Linked DNA regions of Homo sapiens: region 2 is linked to region 1. The links are contacts of gene promoters, found by promoter capture Hi-C in human tissues and cell types (Jung and others, 2019). All regions are on one chromosome and are shown on one strand. The core of a region is centred on a gene start or on the middle of the fragment in contact, and the rest is flanking DNA. Distances in the headings are between cores, read along the strand shown. Region 1 holds the start of HSF2BP (heat shock transcription factor 2 binding protein). Region 2 overlaps RSPH1 (radial spoke head component 1).

The links. The method cuts DNA at HindIII sites, captures the fragments that hold promoters and counts their contacts. A contact is called where the count stands out against the background at its distance.
Region 2: a fragment that was not itself captured here is called in contact with the fragment with the promoter of HSF2BP in region 1 in 1 of the 25 tissues and cell types used here (lymphoblastoid cells).

What each region holds. Positions count from the first base shown.
Region 1 is chr21:43,657,072-43,660,746 of GRCh38, forward strand. It overlaps HSF2BP (heat shock transcription factor 2 binding protein), which reads right to left and starts at 2,417. Exons shown (of 9, transcript NM_007031.2): 1 at 2,315-2,417; 2 at 990-1,249. The coding sequence starts at 1,025. It overlaps RRP1B (ribosomal RNA processing 1B), which reads left to right and starts at 2,489. Exons shown (of 16, transcript NM_015056.3): 1 at 2,489-2,723. The coding sequence starts at 2,594. RefSeq lists a silencer at 2,522-2,711 and an enhancer at 3,432-3,481. The HindIII fragment of the contact is 9,655 bases long and covers 1-3,675 here.
Region 2 is chr21:42,488,960-42,492,569 of GRCh38, forward strand. All of the region lies in intron 3 of RSPH1 (radial spoke head component 1), which reads right to left. Among named protein-coding and RNA genes, the nearest start is that of RSPH1, 5.5 kb to the right of the region's middle. RefSeq lists an enhancer at 3,401-3,610. The HindIII fragment of the contact is 4,264 bases long and covers 155-3,610 here.

The DNA.
Region 1 (3,675 bases), core at 1,167-3,666:
TGAAAACGTGCCCAGGAGGCCCGGCGCAGTGGCTCACGCCTGTAATCCCAGCACTTTGGGAGGCCGAGGCGGGTGGATCACCTGAGGTCAGGAGTTCAAGACCAGCCTGACCAGTATGGTGAAACTCCATCTCACTAAAAATACAAAAATTAGCCAGGTGTGGTGGCCGGCGCCTGTACGCAGCAGGCTGACACGGGAAGAAGGCTTGAGCTCAGGAGTTGGAGGCTGCAGTGAGCTATGATCGTGCCACTGCACTCCAGTCTGGGCAACAGAGCAAGACCACGAAAAAGAAAAGTCATACAAGAGCTCTATTCCTAAAAGTCAAAGAAAACGCCTGCAACTTTTTATCACTGCAGCACCAAACTAATCAGGAGGAAAAGGAAGTCATCTGGTTTCCTACTGGGTTTGCCAAGCCCTCCGCCCGTGATCTCATCTACTATTCACCCCAAGCCTCCAAGATTGTCTAGATGGAAATTAAGGCACGGGAGCTAGATGACTCTCAATGCAGCACAATTAATAACGGGTGGAAGCAGGATGTGAACACGGATCTGGCCCCAGTCCAAGCGCCTTCTCCATCGCATGCAATCAGTTACAGTTATAAAATCGATGGAGGGCAGATTCTCTCTAAGCCTGACGCTAAGTCCCGAAGCAGGGGGCCAGGGCCTTCGGAGGGGAACTGGGCTTCCACGGAGCAGAGAAGAGAGTGACCATCCATCCCACGCTCCCATGCCCGCTTTGGCGCCACTGAGTGCCCCCACCACGCGCAGCCTCACAGACCGGGTCCCCGCGTGGGTTTGGAGGCGAAGTCGCCTCCCGCCCCAGGTCTCCACCCCGCTCCGGCCCAGCCCACGCCGTTAGGGGAGGAAGTCTCCAGGCTTCCCCCAAGCACGCGACAGCGAGCCGTCTCCGAGCGCACGGGGCGAGGCCCTGAGGGGAGCGAATGGCGACGGTTCAAACACGCTGGCGTCGGCCAGGGCTTCCTCACTAACCCGGCAGGCCTCCTCAGCGGCGCCCGCTTCGCCCATGGCCGCTGCCGCCTCCGCTCCGTTCGCCTGAGCGTCGGCGCGCCCTCTGACCCCTCACGCCAGAAAGCGCGGGAACGAATCCACGCCGGGGGTCGGGAACGGAGAGCCGCCAGGCCCAAACCTCCCAGAATTTGCGCAGTATTCTCGGCCTAGAGAGCGAGGAGTGGCCTTGGCGAGGTCCCTCTTTGGCTCTTCTGGCTTAGCCGGGGTTTTAAACTTGTTATCTGCAAAGCAGAAGGAAAGTCAGCCCCTGATGTAAGTGTCAAGTAAAATAAATCGGATGGGTCCTTTCCTGTTTGGCGAGGAATGCTACACTAAGGGGGACTGCGTTCAAATGGGCAGTCTTTGCTGGAAACCTCGCCTCCGCGCGCCTTCCCTCGCTCGGATTCAGGCGCTTTTACGTTAAGGGTTGAATTTTTGTGTCAACAGGCACCTCGGGAGGTCGCCTAGACAACTGAGCGGAGCAACTGAGATAACCCCCGCTACGTGTGGAGTGACCTAGTCCATTAACTTGCCCCAGCACGCCCGCTGAGTCCGCAAAATATAGGATGGCCTCGGGTTTTAGATGAACCCAAAGCTAAGATTTCTTCCCTCTCTGGAATTAGCAAGCAGCCCGCCCTGCCCAACTCCCCTGGAAGCGCGCGTGCTCGCCAGGCCTCGGGACGCCTGCGCGGGCGCCCTTGCACTGGCACCAGGGCTCCGGGGTAGGGGCGCACCGATCTGCCCAAGCCTCTGCAGGCACTGGAGGAAGGCGAGCCCTCCACCCGCTCAACAGGCCCCAGTGCCGGCCTTTCCTTCCAGTCTCAACTCCACCCGGGGGCCCGGGGGCTCCACAGTTAAAAACTCCACGCCACGGAGATCGCAGGTAAGCTGCTGGCTCAACGAGGTGTGCTAAATGGGATTAAAGATCCTGGACCGTGGCCAGGCGCGGCGGCTCAAGCCTGTAATCCCAGCGATCAGGGAGGCCGCCGCGGGAGGATTGCTTGAGCCCAGGAGTTTGAGACCAGCTTGGGCAACATAGCGAGACACCGTCTCTACAAAAAAATAACAAATAGTGGGGCGTGATGGCGCGCGCCTGTAGTCTCAGCTACTTGGGCGGTCGAGATGGGAGGATCGATCGAGTCTGGGAGGTCGAGGCTGCAGTGAGCCAGGATCACCGCCAAGATCGCGCCACTGCATTCCAGCCTGGGCGACAGAGGGAGACCCTGTCTCAAAAACAAACAAAAAATCCTAGACCGTTTACAAACAGCCTTCCGTCTCTTCCTGGTCAAGTCCTAACCCTGGCTAACCTCGCCGTCTACAGCCTGAATTTTGGCAACCGAAAGGCAGCGCCGGCGCCACGTGCACACGGGCTGGGCCGCTCCGCCAGCTGCCAGGGCCACTGCCGCGCTCACTCCCAGAGCGCGCTGCGAGCCGCGGCGCCTTTGTGACGCCATCAGCCCGCGCGCCGCCGCCGCCGCCTTCTGTGCAGTCGCGGCCCGGGCGGACGGTGGCTGGCTGCTCCGCAGCGCTCGGCTGGCTGCAGCGGCACCGCGGGTTGCGCGGCCGGGGATGCTCCAGCGGGCGCGATGGCCCCCGCCATGCAGCCGGCCGAGATCCAATTTGCCCAGCGGCTGGCGTCCAGCGAGAAGGGCATCCGGGACCGAGCGGTGAAGAAGCTGCGCCAGTACATCAGCGTGAAGACGCAGAGGGAGACAGGTGGGCGCACGGCCGCGGTCAGCCGCGCCACATGGCGGGCCGGGGGCCGGGGCTGGGGCTAGGGCCAGGGCCCCGGCACGGAATGCGGCTTCCACGTGTTGTCGTGACACCCAGCGTGTGCTTCGGTTTCCGCGCTGCCGGAACCGCTTCTTGCTGTGTCTAGTGCCTTTTTACACTTAAGGAAACGGGTTGAGGGGGTTCCGTTACTTATGAAAGTCACAGTAAGCGGGGAAGCTGAGAAAAGACCCACATGGGTCCGATTCCCCAGCCGGCATCTCGAATCACTGGGCTGCCCTGATTTGCCCTGGTGTCCGGTCGGTGATTGCCGCCTTCCTTTGACCAGCACCTTTACGTGACGGGGCTGCAGGAGAGAAGACAGACAAAATCACTACCCTCGAGGATCTATTAGTAATAAAGCAAGGAGGCAAACAGGCAAATAAAGTAGACCTTGTGTAAGTGTAGTAAAGGAAATGAAAACCAGGTAGCAGGCCGGGCGCGGTGTCTCACGCATGTAATCCCAGCACTCTGGGAAGCCGAGGCGGGCGGATCACCTGAGGTCGGGAGTTCGAGACCAGCCGGACCAACATGGTGAAACCCCGGCTCTACTAAAAATACAGAATTAGCCGGGCATGGTGGCGCATGCCTGTAATCTCAGTACTCGGGAGGCTGAGGCAGGAGAATCGCTTGAACCTGGGAGGCGGAGGTTGCGGTGAGCCGAGATCGCAGCATTGCACTCCGGCCTGGGCAACAAGAGCGAAACTCCGTCTCAAAAAGAAAAGAAAAGAAAAAAGGAAAAAGAAAACCAGATAATAGCAAAAAGGGAAGGAGGTTGCTCTTCTTGATAGGCTGTTCTGGGAAGGCCTCTCTGGGCTGATAATCAGCTCAGATCTGAAGAGAAATGAGCGGAAACCGCCTATGCAGAGGCAGGAAAGAGCTTCACGTGCCCTAGGAG
Region 2 (3,610 bases), core at 1,037-3,536, 1.2 Mb before region 1:
CTATATTTCTTCTCAGGAGTAACTCCCAGTTGGTTGGTTGGTTGGTTGGTTGGTTGATTTGTTGGTTAACTGGTTGGTTGGTTGGTTGGCTGGTTGGCTGGTTGGTTAGTTGGCTAACCGATTGGTTGGTTGGTTGGTTGGCTGGCTGGTTGGTTGGTTAACTGGTTGGCTGGGTGGTTGGCTAGTCAGTTGGCTGGTTGGTTGATTGGTTGGCTGTTTGGTTGGCTGGTTCGTTGGTTGTTTGGTTGGTTGGCTAGTCAGTTGACTGGTTTGTTGATTGGTTAGCTGTTTGGTTGGCTGGTTGGCTGGTTGGTTGGTTGGTTGGTTGGTTGGCTGGTTGGCTAATTGGTTGGTTGGTTAGACAGTTGGTTGGTTAATTGGTTGGTTGATTGGTTGCTTGGTTGGCTAGTCAGTTGGCTGGTTGGTTGATTGGTTGGCTGTTTGATTGGCTGGTTGTGGGTCAGTTGGCTGGTGTGGAGCAGGTGCTCCTTGGGTAGAGCAGTTTGTCTGGCACTTGGGATTGAAGACAATTTAAAATGAGAAGCTCTCCAAGATGCTCCTCCCCCCTCAAATGCTGGTTGGTCACTGGTTTGCCATGCTGGCCCATGGTCTTGCCAAGTTGGCTCCCTAAACTGCTGGGTCAGCCAAACACAGGAGAGAAGGAGCCCACACTTATGGGGAAACACTCGGTGTCAGACCCTGGGCAGGGTTCCGTGCACTTGCCACAGCATTTGGTATGTGTAATCGCTGAAATATGGTTTTACAGATGCAGAACCTGAAAAGCAGAGAGACTGCATGCATTCCCCAAGGTCCCACAGCTGGTGGGTAGCAAGACTGAAATGAAAATTGGAGTCTGTCTAACACCATGCTCTCTTCTCCACAAGCATCCCAACAGTCAAGTGCTCATTTTTTCCAGCTCCTGCCATTCGGGGGCTTCCAAAAAACCCAGGTTCAAGTTATCATGTCATTCTTCTTTCTCCACAATGTCATTCTTAAACTTCTTTGTTTTGATGAGTTCTGTTTGACAGGCAACAAGGCCAGCAGGGAATAGGGATGCTCTTTCTCCCCCTTAACCTCAGAGTCCTCAGTTGGCCCTACACCCCCAACCCTCAGCATCAGTACATGGGGTCTAGGCCTCCCCCACATCTGGCACCCACCCTCCCCTCCATCTCATCCCCCACTACCCCTAAAAACCTCGGCCTTCCTGCCTGTATCCAAGTCACCCGCCACCCAGGACCGTCTCCCCACTCCTCTCCTGCAGCACTATAGCCTCTGCTGGCTCCTGGACTCCCTAATTGGACTTGTGTGACCATCTGGGAGACAGGTAGGGTACTGGACTTTATGCCACAGGGTCCTGACGTTGAACACACTGCCCTGCACAAAACCATTCTGGCCCATTGTGATGGCAGCCAGCCAAGATACACTGTTATGAATAACTCAGCCATACATTAACTGAGATTTTGTGATTGGAAGAGTATTGGCTTACTATGTTATAATTAATATTATAACTTCTGACCTCAGTTTCCATTGCTGCCTTCATGAAGTAAGACACTTATTTAAGCTTTTGTCAGAGAAGAAATCTCTGGGTAGTGGCTAAATCTTGCACCCTTTAAGATACAAAGCCATCTGGAGAATCAAAAATCCCAACTGTTACCAGAAGAGCTTTATATGTTAGTGTGGCATAATAAGAAATATTGGTCTTTATTCATGGTTCCCAGCACAGAGCTCCTAAAACCCTTGACATTTCCTGACTGATAGAAATGTTTTTGTTATTCAAAATGAGACTCTTTTGACCACACCTGAACTTATGCAAATGAGGCCCAGGATGGCCTCAAGATGGGACTGAACACCAGAAAGACCAAGTGATAAGAAGGATAGAACCTCCAGCCCCACCCACCAACTTTTGGTAAAGAAGAAGGAAGGGGCCAGAGATTAAGCTCTGTAAAAACTCTTGAGCAAGATTTGTTGAGCTTCTGGGGTGATAAACATATCATGTGCCAGGAGGGTGGTGCACTCCACCTCCACAAGGACAGAAGCTCCTGTGCTTGGGAACCTTCCAGGCCTTGCCCTCTGTACCTCTGAATCTGGCTGTTCATCCATATTCTTTATAATATCCTTTACAGTAAACATGAGTAAAGTGCTTTCCTGAGTCCTATGAGCCGCTATGGCACATTATCAAACCTGAGTAGGGTGTTGTAGGAACCCCCAATTTGTAGCCGAGTCAGGTAGAACTGTGGGTACCCTCCGGATCCACAACTTGAGGTTGACATCTGAAGTGGGGCAGTCTTGGAAACTGAGCCCTTAACCTGTGGGGTCTGTGCTAACTCTGGGTGGTGTCAGAATGGAGTTGCATCATTGGAAACTCAGTTGGTGTTCACAGAAGACTGGAGAAGTACATAGCATGGAAAATCCATGCATTTGGTGTCAGAGAAACAGTTACCCATTTTTAACCTTCATATTCAAAATTCCTTAAATCCCTTATCCTAAATATCTTCGTGTGTGTGTGTGTTGTTCAAATTGTATCAACATCTACACTAAAATCAAAAGTGACAAGAATGAGATTAGGTGCATAAGGATTTGGAAAGAATTAAATTAAGCCCCAAATTAAATTGTTTAAAGTTGATTTAAAAAGCAGATGGTGCTTCTTATAGAGCAAGCCTTCTGGGATTTATGAAACAAAACAAAACAATTTCTATCTAACAGGGATGGTATTAAAACCCTCCATCTTGGTCTCAGAATTGGACAGAATCATCACTGACATCTATTAAAATAAGAACCACCTACTGGTTCTTATTTTATCTAGGAGCAAAGCAAGCAACTATAGCTCGCACTTTGTAAGAATATGTCCTCCTCACTAAGAAGTGATGCTGTCACAAGTGGTACATCACAGTCCTAGCCCCAGTTACTGAGTGCTCACTATGGATCAGGCAAGGTTGCAGGTGTCTCCCTGTGTTTATCCATTGAATCTTCATGCTACAGATGAGAAACTGAGGCAAGGAGATGTGAAGTCACCTATGCAAGCTCACACCTATTGTCACCAGAGTCCAAGGTTAGGGTCACAGATCTTTTTGGAAATCTGAAGAAAACTAGACAATTTCTTTCTTCCTAGGGAAAAAACAAAAAGCCCAGAACACAGAATTTTATATACACTTTCTGAAGACTCACAACACGCTCCCTGCCGGTCCCCCTGCCCAGGTTTGGGATATCACTAATGTGGTCACACCAGGTGACAACGGCACAAGGGGCGGCAGGGAGGTTCTTGGAAATAAAGGAAAAAGAATCCTCCTCAAACATAACATTGGCCTGTAAGGACTTATGGCACAGGTAGGAAAAGTCAGTTTAACAAGGCAGGAAGACTCCCAGACAGGAAGCCCTGATGTAAGGAAACACTCGATCTGAAGAAATAACACATCCGTCAGATGGCGGGGTTGGTCAGAAATGGAAAATGCAAAGACAGGTTCAGGAAGATGAATGCCGCAGAGCAGCTGAAGCCGTGGGTCCACCAGCTGCGAGGCCTGCGTCCACTCAGGAGCCTCCCTTTTGTCTGCTCCCAGGACATGGACATGCTGGCCACAGGGACAGATTTCCCACTACAGATTCATTAGTGAGT